Linked DNA regions of Homo sapiens: regions 2, 3, 4 and 5 are each linked to region 1. The links are contacts of gene promoters, found by promoter capture Hi-C in blood cells and fetal thymus (Javierre and others, 2016). All regions are on one chromosome and are shown on one strand. The core of a region is centred on a gene start or on the middle of the fragment in contact, and the rest is flanking DNA. Distances in the headings are between cores, read along the strand shown. Region 1 holds the start of EFHC1 (EF-hand domain containing 1). Region 2 overlaps FBXO9 (F-box protein 9). Region 3 overlaps CILK1 (ciliogenesis associated kinase 1). Region 4 overlaps CILK1 (ciliogenesis associated kinase 1). Region 5 overlaps GSTA4 (glutathione S-transferase alpha 4).

Region 1 (2,560 bases), core at 45-2,544:
TTTTTATTTTTAAGCTCCTCAGCAATGATGGATAGCTTTCTCCCCCCCCCCCCAAAAAAAATGTTTCAGGAATAGGATTATGTTTCTTTTAAGAAAAAATAATTTAAGCAAGTTTTGTAAAAAGCATCAAAGGCTATACCTATGATGCTGACAATATTTCACCTCACTTATCTGCTTCTTTCCCAAGACTTAGTCTTTCTCTTTGAAGGAGCTGTGTTCCTCCTAGTGGTTCTGATCTTTTTCATTGCAGCTGCAGGTACAAACGAGGGATTGAGGTGACCACCCTTCAACCTGCAGCTCTTCAGTCAACAAAAATCAAGTACCTATCAGAGTGCACCCTGCCCTGCAGCACATATTCAAGGCTTTCCCTACAAAAACAAAGGTGTTTAACCGAAGGGATTGATGGTAGAATAAAGAGAGCTGGGCGCGGTGGCTCATGCCTGTAATCCCAGCACTTTGGGAGGCGAGGTGGGCGGATCGCTTGACCCCAGGAATTCGAGACCAGCTTGGGCAACATAGTGGGACACTATCTCTACGGAAGGAGGGAAGTAGGGAAGGAAGGAAGGAAGCAAGGAGGGAAGGAGGGACGGAGGGAAGGAGGGAAGGAAGGAAGGAAAAAGAAAAGAAAGGAAAGAAAGAAAGGAAAGAAAGAAAGAGAAAGATTGATTTTAAAAAAGAGTTAAAAGGGGAAAAATACAATGTGGCAGTGGGAGAATTAAGGATGAGATGATTGCATTAGTTCATTGACCATCCCTGAGCAACAGAAACACAATCATGGGTAATCCTCGGCCCCTGCCTACAAGAAGCATGGGTCTAGTTTAGTAGCACTGCCAACTGGACCGACCATTTACACTTCTGTGTGAAATGGGGCAGAGGGGGGAGAAAAGAGTGCCTGAGCTCACAGCGTTGGCGGGGCGCAGTGAGGTCCGCCAGGACTAGGTGGAAGGAGAGAAGGAACGTCCCTCTCTGCAACTCATCTAAGGGCCTGCTCGGACCCCGGATCTCACAGCGAGAACTACCGCCTCGCTACACCCGCCTTTCCCCGCGCCACCCAACAGCTCCCACGTCTCATCCTCCGGGAGCGGGGCGGGGCGAAGCGGAAGAGGAGGGGCCGACACAACCACGCCCACTAGCCGCGCTCCAAGGCCGCGGCCCACTTACCGCGAGAACGCGGAGTCCTGCGGATGGCGCACGCGCAAACCTCCTGTGATGCCTGCGCCTCCTGGCCCCGCCTTCCGCTCGTGGGAGTTCCGGATGTTTAGCGTTACCATGGATCCTGGAGGTGCCCGCGAACACTGCTTGTCGCCTGGGCAACCGGAGAGGACGAAGCAGGACCTAGGTGGCGGCGGTGGTACCGGCTGCAATGGTGTCCAATCCCGTGCATGGCTTGCCCTTTCTTCCGGGCACGTCCTTTAAGGACTCTACGGTGAGCAGTTATCTGCCAGACTCCCACCTGTCCCCACCTTCCAGCAGCCCAGGAGGTTTCCCCGCTCAGTGCACCTCCATTCCCCTCCACTCAAGTCTGTCTTCTCTCCAAACACGTCTTCTGTCCTGACCCTGTTCTTTATTCTGGGCCGAACTTCTGCCGTTCTTCCCTAGCCATCCTCATCCCCTCTCTCCGATCCTTTGCCCTCCGCCTCATCCCTCTCTAGTTTTTTCCCACTCCATCTTGGCAGTGTGTTGGCGCCTTCATTCTCATCCCGTTAGCCGCGTTCTTTCTTACGGCCCTGCTCCTCCAAGCCCCTGCCTCTTGTCCCTTTAGATCACTGTTTCCCCCACCCTACTCCCAACCTATCTCTGGGCCCTCTCCCTAGCTCGTTCTCTCACATCATAACCTGTCTCCGTCCATCGCCGCCCTTAAAACCCCCCGCCACTATGCACCTTCAACCTCATTCCCACAGGTCCGTCATTCCCGCCCCACCTCTTCCTCTTCTGAATCCTGTACCCGGTAGTATCTCCCACTCCCAGCTCCATTTCCTGTTTTGTATGTATATCGATTCCGCTCCTCTTCTTTCCGCCAGGTCTTTTTCCTTTCTTCTTTATGCTTGCATCCAACCCCATTCTTTTTTCTCCATCTTCTACATTTTCCACAATTTAGTCCCATCCTCTCCCCATTCCTTTCTTTCTCCGTTGCGGGTTTTCCCCAAAACTTGCTCACCTTCCTCCCAAAGCATCTTTCCCTGCTTTGTAAGAGATATTCCTTTCCAGTTCCCTCAAGAATTGATTAGTTGCTGTTTATTCTTCCCCGGCCCTGTTCTTTTTATTCTAACGTTTTTGTAAAAAGATTCCTGTTTAGATTTTGTTTTGCTCCTTCCCCAACCTTGTGTTTTTATTTGCATTTTCTAGACAAAATTTTTTAAAAAGTAGCAGCAGCTTGGATTCTTTTTTTTTTTTAAACTCTTGCCACAGTTTAGCTCTTAAAATTATTTGGTTTGTTTTAATTCTGACAGGGCTACTGAAATGTATGTGCTGAAAAATCAATAATGAGATTCAGTAGACTGATCATCATAGATGAGCTAACAGTAGTTTATGTTTATATAGTTTAATACTTTAAACTCTT
Region 2 (2,560 bases), core at 42-2,541, 660 kb after region 1:
TTCAAAGTAGGTATTTTCCTCTCTAAAGGTAGGCTGATAAGGCAAATCTGTTAGAAAACCCTTGGTAAGTAAGTACCTCAGATGACGTCTGTAGATTTGGTTTTTATCCAGTTAGAATAAATTAAGGTTAAAGAACATACTACGTTAAGATTTTTGAAACCATTTGAAAGCTTGCAGTAACTCATAAAATCTCTACTTTACAATAAAATTAGTTAAATCTCAACACCTGTATCCAAAAATTCTAATTCTTTCTGGATGATAATTACTGAAGCTTTTTTCTTTGAAAAACTTGATACAGTATTCCTTTGCAAGACAGGATAAATTCATCACATTTAAAAATGTATCACATGTTGAATAAGCTTTAGGTGACTTTTTGTAAAGCAAATTTGAAAATGCTATGAAAAATCAGTTTCTAAACTGTACGCTTGTAGACTGAGGCACTTAATTTATTCACCTCCCTTTTTTCAGCATTGAAGATAATGATGATGACAGCAAAATGGCAGATCTCTTGTCCTACTTCCAGCAGCAACTCACATTTCAGGAGTCTGTGCTTAAACTGTGTCAGCCTGAGCTTGAGAGCAGTCAGATTCACATATCAGGTGTGAATACTTGTTTTTCATAACTCAGTGAGAAATATCTTAACCTTAAAGATTTCCAAATTTATAAGGTCAGATAATTTGCCAGATAACTGCTGCTTTAGTTCAGAATATGGTGGAAGATCTAGTTATAATTATCATTTGCATATACTATTAAGCTGTTTTGTGTTTTGTTTTGTCTTGTTTTGTTTTTTGAAATGGAGACGTGCCCTGTCACCCAGGCTGGAGTGCAGTGGTGCAATCTCGGCTCACTGCAACCTCTGCCTCCTGGGTTCAAGCAATTCTGCTGCCTCAGCCTCCCAAGTGGCTGGGATTACAGGCGTGTGCCACCACACCCAGCTAAATTTTTGTATCTTCAGTAAAGACAGAGTTTCACCATGTTGGCCAGGCTGGTCTCGAACTCCTGACTTCATGATCTGCCCACCTTGGCCTCCCAAAGTGCTGGGATTACAGGCCTCTGAGGCACTGCGCCCAGCCCAGTAGTAAGCTGCTTTACAATCTGAAGCAGAACAGTTTGTAGTGCTGTTGTTTAAGGATGCCATACCTTTTTCAGTAAAGATCTAACAGGGTAAGTCTGAGTTGTTGAGGTAGCCCTAAGAAAACTGGAGGAATACTGGTATCATGAAGCATTTCAGCCATGTTGGACAATTGTCCTGAGACAGACTGAATGTTTAGGAATTAATGGATTTTTGTTCGGGCATGGTGGCTCACGCCTGCAATCTCAGCATTTTGGGAGGCTGAGTTGGGAGGATCACTTGAGGCCAGGAGTTCAAGATAAGCCTGGCCAACATGGTGAAACCCCACCTCTACTAAAAATACAAAAATTAGCTGGGCGTCGTGGCGCATGACTGTAGTCCCACCTACTTGGGAGGCTGAGGCACGAGAATTACTTGAACCCAGGAGGCAGAGGCTGCAGTGAGCTGAGATTGTATCACTGCACTCCAGCCTGGGCAACAGAGCAAGAACCTGTCACAAAAAAAAAAGAAATTCATGTATTTTTAATATGTTAAATATTGTTTGGTTCGGGGCTTTTTCAGAGGAGGACAATTAAAAGTTTTCAAGGAGATGAAAATAACTTTAGTGTTAATAGATGCAATATGGATCACACACACATAGATTATTTTCCTAAAACATTTATTTTAATATGTCTGGCAAAATAATCTTATGAGGGAAAAGAGTGCTTTATAAAAAGTAGCTTCAGATCTATACTGAAAAAACAAAGATATTTATGTCTTGATGTTAAGAACCATTATTATTATTGAGTAGCTAAATACATTCATGCTTTAGCTCTGAGCAATACAGAGGGTGTGATTATAAATTTCTAGGAAGGTATAAATGTACTGGGAATGTAGTTGTGACAATAGAATGACATAGAGGAGAGTCACTGAAGGATGATTTTCTTTTGCAGTGCTGCCAATGGAGGTCCTGATGTACATCTTCCGATGGGTGGTGTCTAGTGACTTGGACCTCAGATCATTGGAGCAGTTGTCGCTGGTGTGCAGAGGATTCTACATCTGTGCCAGGTACTAAGTTTTTGTTTTTGTTTTTTAAACAACTGAGGCAATGGTGAAAAGAAAGATGGTCCTTTGCCAATCCTGATAAAATTACTTGATTGGTGTTCTGAGTTAAAGCTTAGAATAAACAAGTTTTGCTAAGCTGTACTTAACTTTCTCAAATAACTTAGAATTTAAAGGCTAGAATATGCTAGGTTTCTAGGGTATAGAATAATATGTAGGACAGATGTAGTAACCCATACTACTACCATAGAGTTTACATGCTAGCTTAACTGATTTGGGAAAAAGAGTTATATTAGAAAAATATATTCAAGTCATTTTTACACTAACTGTAAACTCATTGTGGTAATGGTTTAGATTAAAACAGCACTAGCATTTTCTTATGGCTCATTAAAAGTTATTCTATATTTTGAAAATTTTGCTATGTGTGGGAAAGGACTCTATTCAATA
Region 3 (2,560 bases), core at 28-2,527, 630 kb after region 1:
CCATTTTTTTTTTTTAGCTGTCATTTTTTTGTGTGCCTTCATAGCCACTTGTTTTACTGGATGAAAAATATTTCTCTGTTCCTATGCCTATAACAAAAGTGACAAAGTAAAAGCCTGAAAAAAAAAAAAACCTTATACTTAAAGAAAAATTGGAAGAGAAGAAAAATTGTTCTTTTTTAGAAGAGAAGAGCAATTTCTTACTGTTTGACAAGCACACACCCAGCTTCCTTGAGTCTTTTATTTTCCTCCTCTGCCCTGACAGCATTTAAATTCAGCTTCTGGTACAGATAGTTAACACTGCTTGAGAAGTGAATGGAATGTAGCAGCCTGTCCATTACCTTGAGAATTAGCATGTATTTCTAACTCGCAGTATTTCTAAATTCTGCTTTGACTCCAAGAATTAACTTGGATAAATCATTCACTACAACGAATCTACACTTAGCACCCTCATATATCAAATATGCCCAAAACATGATAATTTTAGTACTTAGTATGTGCATAGTACTATTATAAGTGCTTATGCATATATTAGTACATTTAACCCTCATAATTCTACCAGGCAGGTACTATTACAATTATCCCTATTTTACAGAGAAGGAAACTGAGACACAAGTTACATGTCTAGATTATACGACTAATGTGGCAGAAATGAGACAGGAACCCAGGCTGACTGTACCAAACTTAAGGGAAAGCTTTCAAAAGATCATGAAATCTTTGGAGGATCTGAAAATGACAGGAACAGAAGTAGTACTTTGTATCTCAAAGCCCAAATATGAAAATGAATGATATGGCTATGTTCTAATTGTCTTCATTCTGCAATCAAATATCAGCGAATCCTCTGGAGCCATTGGCAGCACCAACATGCCCACAGTGGAGGCAAAGTGAGGGACTGGTTCCAGTTTCCACTCAGCACTGATCTGCTGTGCCTCGGGGCATCTCTTGGTCCTTGAGTTTACTTTTGGTGGAATTAGGGCATGGGACTTGCTCTAAGGTGGTTTCTTCCTCTAAAGCTGTGTGATTCTGTGACTCTGTATCAGGAATTGAGCTAGCATTTGTCTAAGAAAAAAAAAAGGATAAATGTTTCTGCTTTTTGCATCACATGAACAAAGGTTAGCGGAGAAGACAGTGCCACCGAAGGACCCTGTATGCTACACACCTTTCTTTCAAGAGATGCACAAGTGCCCCAGTGCCTCAGCCAGGCCCCAGTAAACATTAAACATCGATTCCTTCTCTTTCGAGCTCACATGTCACCTCTTCCAAGCCTCCTGCCCCAACCTACACATATAGACCCGAGAATGGTCCTCTCCCTTGATGCCATAGTGCCTTGTCCTCACCTCACTGCCAGCCCCTTCCCCGTGGCAATGACCTGCAGGTGTACCCTCTGCTTCAGCCTCGACACTCTCCAAGACTGCTTCATCTTTGTCTTCTCACTCCACTTGCAGTAGCAAGTCCTCAAAGATTGTTTGAAGGGCCCAAATGTGAGTTTTAGTCTTTGCTATTATTTTCTGTACCACCTTGGCTAAGTACCTCAAAATTCTCAGTGCTTCTATTTTGTCATACACAAAACAAAGATAAACTGTTGGGCCCAACTAAAAGTTCTGAAGTTCTGAAGTGGAAGAACAGTGAATACCACAGAATAGCTGGGGCAGGCAGGCAGCCTGGGCCCTCCCACAACAATGCCAAGATGACTGAGTCTCAGAGGATCACAGAAAGTCCCCCTCCATGCGGTCAGATCAGGCCTTTGGCCTTTGGGTAAGGCTGTACTCAACTACCAAAGAAAGACAGCTTTATCTCTCTTTCAAAGAGTTCCAGCAAACCTTTGAAGTCAATGTTATGATGTTCCTGGCTAGGTGACATTGGGGAAAAGCTTCCTGTGATTTGCCCCAATTCCCTCCCCTCAGCGTCAATCCTCGGTGGAGGCAAAGAACATTTGCTCATGGCCAGCAGCTCACATCAGGTGCCTTGCTCATTCACAGCCTAAAAAATGGAGGCGAGGGGCAGGGAAAATTGTAGTTCATTCTTTATTTTGAAACCTTAATCAATGAATTAATGCCATCATTACACATTTTCTAAGACAGGAGACAAAAAGTTACAGCAAACTTGGGGTTCTCTGGGAGTTGTGGTTTACCAGGCCCACTGACACCATTCAGTTCCTTAGAAGGAGCTTGTCTCCCTTTGCATTAATTATCTTACATTGAAAAGATTCTGTTACTTTCATTTATCCTCCTAGGAAAAGTGGATTATATGCAAAATCATTAGATGACCCTTCTCATGGTAATTCTGAGTTCCATTTTACCTTTACAGGTTTATAATTAGACTTCGTATTCTAGGTTTGAATGTGTCCTAACTTTACAAAAGTCAGTGAATACTGTTAATTTCTTTTAAAAAGGTACTAGAAATAGTATATCCGGGTTTATGTTTTTCTCCTGGACCTAATTCTTCTGCCTCTGTACATTTTAGCAAGCAAACCTTTTAAGCATTTTGCCTCTTGGACTACTGCTTTTTTTCTGCATAAGGAATAGCAGTTACAAAGCCAAAAGGACCTTCTTTACATGGATCT
Region 4 (2,560 bases), core at 40-2,539, 580 kb after region 1:
GGCTGCAGGTTCTCAGTCAGAACAGAAACAGAGAGACAAAAGAAATGGTTACTATTCCCTTCTATAGTGCATAGGTTTTTTTACACAATTTGTCCTTTACCCATTTCAGAGAAGGGGAGGAAGAGTAATTCACAGCATTTGCTAGTTAAAATTTGTTTTTTCAGTCCTCTAGTTTTCTCAACTGCACATCAGCTACTTGATTTTTTTTATGAATATGTGTTTGGCTTCCCCAGGGAAGTTGCTTGCTGGTAAACAAACGAAAGCATAAAAAGAAAAAAGCGAAGTATTTTCTGAAGTTGGGCCCTATAAAGTATTAGAAAAACAATTTTATAATGTGCAATAATCAGGTAACTAGGTTTTTCAGTTAAAAAATGTAATGACCTTATATAAGCTAGATTACTGAGACTATGGTATTAAACAATCCATTTGCTCCTCTAAGGAATATTTACAATTTAAAACCTGCTTTCCAGCAAGCTGGGCCAGGTTTCACATTAATTTACTTTTCATATATAATACAGAAAATGAAAATAAATATTAACCTTATAGTAAAGGACTCATCTCTGAAAACACATGTTCTGATGCTTTAGATAACGAGTTGAGAATATAATACAGAAATGAATTCAGCTTCAAGTTGTGCTTGCATATATATTTTCTGAAGCTTTGCTGCCAGCTTGTTAACAGGAAAAGACCACCTATCACATCCACATCCATTATGTGCTTTTCTCATGCCCCTAGGGATCATGGTGCTTGGTCAAGTATATATTTGAGTCAAATTCTCCAAAGCATAAATTACTCTCCGATTTTAGGTTAGGGCCCTTTGGAAGCCATGGTTATTTGTTCAGAATGCAACATATTATTAATACACCAAGGCAATAATTTACCAAGTCATTAGGTTGAACCATATGAAAGTGTCTATATTCATTTCACCTATCATTTTAACCTATAAAAATGATCACTTGGCTGGGTGCAGTGGCTCATGCCTGTAATCCCAGTACTTTGGGAGGTGGAGGAGGGTGGATCACGAGGTCAGGAGATCGAGGCCGTCCTGGCTAACACAGTGAAACCCCGTCTCTACTAAAAATACAAAAAATTAGCTGGGCGTGGTGGCGGGCGCCTGTAGTCCCAGTTACTCAGGAGGCTTGAACCTGGGAGGCAGAGGTTGCAGAGAGCTAAGATCGCGCCACTGCACTCCAGCCTGGGTGACAGAGTGAGACTCTGTCTCAAAAAAAAAATAAAAAATAAAAGATTACTTACATATGGTTCAATTTGTCATTATCCTGGAACCAATAGAGAGTAGTTTGAGCCCTAGGAGAATATGAATCAATACACTGTTGAGATTGCATTGCGTTCACTGATGGTGACCTTCCCTCTTGCCTTTAAGGCAACCATAAGTGAGGCAAATGTACCATATAGAGATGGATGAGACTGGACCTTTTGTCTTTTTCTGTCTCCAAACTGACTTTGTCATTTTTGAAACTGCTGTAAACATTCCTCTCAATGGAACAGCCTCTGCCCAACAAATAAAGTTCTCACTCTTGAAAGAAACTACACCAGGGTTAGGAGATCAAATGTGGCATGTGACTGTGACTTTGTAGATGAGTGGAACCTCTGCCATAACTCTTTCTGCTCCCCAAATTGTCCTGAGAATTTGGCTAGGACAGAACATTAGTCATTGACTGCTCCTAGCCAGATCTGGAGAACTGAGCTAGGCACAAAATTCCATCTCAGTTACTATAATCAAAAACCTTCTGCTGCTTTGATACTTAGTTTTTTGGCCATGCATCTTGGCAGGAATGTAAGTTTGATTGACTGTGTTAACCTTCATGTTGAGAGCCTTTTGAAGCAGAAATCTCTTTTATTGGTACACATACAACTTGATTTCAAAAATGGAATAAATTAGAATATAATGGCATAGTATAATTAAGCTTGGTTTCATCTGAGATCTGCAACCACATTAAAGGGTGTCAGAAAAATTTTTTAAAATGTATTTACTTAGAGTTCTTTCATCTGGGGAACAAAAGTAAAACAAAGTGAATTATATAATATAATAGTCCTTTTAGAACAGCAGAGTGGTATCCAAAAATCAAACCAATGACCTACTAAGAAAAGCAGAGGATCACTTTTCTAACAACAGTCCAAGAAGGCCTGAAGTACCTAGTGAGCCACACTTGAAATTTCACCACTTCATAAATATCTGCACACACTGAGTAAATAACCCTCTATCACATAGCCTTAAATTGCACCCCTGTTGCAATACTGCATTAATATTATTACATTTTTCAAAATCTGTAGAAAATATTATCTGGAACCCCAAAGGAAAATCAATTAATTTTTAAAAAGTTCATTACAAAGTTGACTGTATAAAATGCTAAAACATAATCCATATATACAAAATGCTGTTGTTTAAGAAAATAATGGGACCCAGTTTTAGAATAAAATAATTTTATACAAAAAAGCCTACTGCATTCAAATCAATATTTTAAAAAAAAACTTTAAAAAAGAATATTGACATGTCTTAGTTCAGAAGAATAACTATAAAGTGTTGATTTGCTTTTATGCC
Region 5 (2,560 bases), core at 17-2,516, 560 kb after region 1:
TCCCAACTCAGTCATCCACAGTCTTGCAACTATGCAGAATGTAATGTTTCCAAGCTGGTAATTTTCATCTGTAAAATGGAGATAGTGAAGCCCATCTCCTAGGGTTATTGGGGTGGGGTTGACGGGACAGATGAGCAAATGCATGTAAGTGCCTAGCAGACTGACTGGAATGAAGCTGGCACTCAACAAGTTGCAGATCCCTTCCTCTAATTTCCCTTCTCTGCTAAACAAGTAACTTTTTTAACAGTGCAAAAGAATACTTCAGGTGAAAAGTATCCTAAGTTCTGAATGAATAAAATCAAATTAAGGAAAGTCAATCTCTGTGTCTGCAAAAGTAAATGAAAAAAAAATTGAAAAAAAAATATAAACTATAACATAAATGATATGGTGGTTTATTGCCTTGTTGAAGATTTTTATTCTCATTTTCTGGGTGTACTTATTGAACTGGTGGTAATTGCTCTCATTAGTATATCAAAATATTTAATAGACTTGGCAAAAAATTGTTTTAAGTATGTGTGTTACTCTTTGGAGAGTTAGTGTATCTCTCTTGGCTTTTGATAACTTGGTCAAACATATAGCAATTTGGTCTGTATCCAGGCTGTTTCAGGGATTGGCAAGCTTTTTCCATAAAGGACCAGTCAGCAAATATTTTAAGTTCTGCAGGCCATATGGTCTCTATCAGATCTACTCAACTCTGCTGTAGAAAAACAAAAGTAACCTTGACATTGTGTAAATGAGTGGGCATGGCTTTGTACCAATGAAATTTATGAATACTAGAATTTGAATTTCATATAATTTTTATGTGTCATGAAATATTATTCCACAGATTTTTTTCAACCATTTAAAAATGTAAAAATTATTCTTAACTCACAAGCTGTATAAAAACAGGTGGCAGGCCAGGTTTGGCCCAGGAGTTACAGTCTGCACATTAGACTTGGAGATAAAAGGCTAAGGTTCTAGATAAAACTCAAGCATCCACTGCCTAAGCCAGCTTGGCTGCTGATTTCTTTATTCTGGGTCTCTACTTCCTCAAGTGAATATTGAAGTCATTAAATGAGTTTTTTTTTAAAGGCCCTTCTCTCCTTTAAAGTTCTATGATCAATCCTGCCAGAATAACCCTGAGGGATAATTTGAACCACACAAGTCTTTCCTTGGAATTCTCAGAAGGAGAATGGTAGGAATCCTTTGGGGTGATGTTTAGGGTGCTAACATCTCTCATTTGCTCTCAGAGCTCAGGCTTAGAATTTCCTAACTTGAGACCATACTATTTCTGAGAAAGGGAGTCATAGCCTGATGAATGAGACTGTTTTGATGTTTATCTCGCCCACTATTCCATCAGTAGATACATGTGAGTGTGAGACCACCTCATCTCTATGGTTATTTCTATGGAAAGTCCCCTGAGGCAAACTCCCTGTGCATGGAGTTTTTTCCAGGAGTGCAGTTATGGAACAAAATTAAGATGAAAATTTCTGAGCTGGGTGTGCTGGCACATGCCTATAGTCCCTGCTACTCAGGAGACTGAGGTGGGAGGATCTCTTGAGCCCAGGAGTTCAAGACCATTCTGGGCAACATAGTAAGATCCCACCTTAAAAAAAAAAAATTTTACACTTCAATGATCTTTCAACTTGAAGGATTTAAGGACCAGAAAAATAACTTTGGGTCCTTACTTTCATTTCATTTGCCAAACTAGAATCTTAAAAATATTACACATACACACACACACACACTCCCCAAAGCCAACCAAACAATAGACACTGAAGGAAGGCCCAAGAGTTCTAGGCCAATCTTCTAATACATAGTTTTATTTACCTGGAGGAAAGGAAATGCAGACAGGATATTAGGAATTTTCTCTTCTAGAGCTAAAATGGTTTGGAGTAAAATCACATCTGCAAGGCTCAGCTGATTACCAACAAGAAAGCTTTGTCCGTGACCCCTTAAAATCTGTAGGGAAATGGTGTGCATCAGTTACAATATTCCACATGGAGAGAGTGATGAGGCTATTGAATCAGTGCAGTATCTGAGAAGAGGTGAAACTATGACCTTGTCATTTCATGCTTTCATAAATAACATCAATTAAGAGAACGCACCCTATATCTGACAGAGAGAGTGAGAGAGAGGGGGAGAGAGAGAGAGAGAGAGCGAGAGAGAGAGAGAGAAAGTACAAAAAAGGTGTGGAAATGAAAGCATCCTTAAATATCTGCTGTGGATCTGAATGAGACATTGAAGTGGGGAAGGGAAAATTCCTTATTTCTGGATTTAGCATCTGGTGTTTTGAAAGGATATATCTACTCCAAAAATGTATCTACAGAAATGCATGCAGGAGGCTTGGGGAGGGGCAGGGTGATTTAAGAAATCTAAGTGATAGATCATCTTCAAGGGGCCCACTCTTATTTCCCAGTTCTGCTGCTAGAACATCAAGAGGTGTAGTCATAAACTCAACCCAATTATAAAATTAGACTTCCTCTTACATGTCCCAAAACAGAGAAAATGAAAAGCTTGAGTTCATCTTGACTCCCATTCTGAGGGTAACGTATAGGTGTGGGGCTTATAAGAATAGATT

Evidence for each region. The method cuts DNA at HindIII sites, captures the fragments that hold promoters and counts their contacts. A CHiCAGO score of 5 or more calls a contact.
Region 2: a contact is called between a fragment that was not itself captured here and the fragment with the promoter of EFHC1 in region 1, in 2 of 17 cell types (total CD8 T cells and erythroblasts). The highest score is 6.7, in total CD8 T cells.
Region 3: a fragment that was not itself captured here is called in contact with the fragment with the promoter of EFHC1 in region 1 in 6 of 17 cell types (total CD8 T cells, naive CD8 T cells, naive CD4 T cells and 3 more); the score reaches 6.4 in total CD8 T cells.
Region 4: a contact is called between a fragment that was not itself captured here and the fragment with the promoter of EFHC1 in region 1, in 1 of 17 cell types (naive CD8 T cells). The highest score is 6.2, in naive CD8 T cells.
Region 5: a fragment that was not itself captured here is called in contact with the fragment with the promoter of EFHC1 in region 1 in 2 of 17 cell types (naive CD4 T cells and total B cells); the score reaches 6.5 in naive CD4 T cells.

What each region holds. Positions count from the first base shown.
Region 1 is chr6:52,419,048-52,421,607 of GRCh38, forward strand. It overlaps EFHC1 (EF-hand domain containing 1), which reads left to right and starts at 1,295. Exons shown (of 11, transcript NM_018100.4): 1 at 1,295-1,426. The coding sequence starts at 1,364. It overlaps LOC124901331 (a long non-coding RNA gene), which reads right to left and starts at 1,934. Exons shown (of 2, transcript XR_007059611.1): 1 at 1,162-1,934. RefSeq lists an enhancer at 1,264-1,855. The HindIII fragment of the contact is 6,560 bases long and covers 1-2,560 here.
Region 2 is chr6:53,080,500-53,083,059 of GRCh38, forward strand. It overlaps FBXO9 (F-box protein 9), which reads left to right. Exons shown (of 13, transcript NM_033480.3): 6 at 469-599; 7 at 2,005-2,119. Among named protein-coding and RNA genes, the nearest start is that of FBXO9, 16 kb to the left of the region's middle. The HindIII fragment of the contact is 1,868 bases long and covers 358-2,225 here.
Region 3 is chr6:53,052,936-53,055,495 of GRCh38, forward strand. All of the region lies in intron 1 of CILK1 (ciliogenesis associated kinase 1), which reads right to left. Among named protein-coding and RNA genes, the nearest start is that of CILK1, 7.6 kb to the right of the region's middle. The HindIII fragment of the contact is 1,175 bases long and covers 691-1,865 here.
Region 4 is chr6:53,002,500-53,005,059 of GRCh38, forward strand. It overlaps CILK1 (ciliogenesis associated kinase 1), which reads right to left. Exons shown (of 14, transcript NM_014920.5): 14 at 1-2,560. Among named protein-coding and RNA genes, the nearest start is that of RN7SK, 8.2 kb to the left of the region's middle. The HindIII fragment of the contact is 1,267 bases long and covers 657-1,923 here.
Region 5 is chr6:52,980,765-52,983,324 of GRCh38, forward strand. It overlaps GSTA4 (glutathione S-transferase alpha 4), which reads right to left. Exons shown (of 7, transcript NM_001512.4): 6 at 1,810-1,941. Among named protein-coding and RNA genes, the nearest start is that of GSTA4, 13 kb to the right of the region's middle. The HindIII fragment of the contact is 1,300 bases long and covers 617-1,916 here.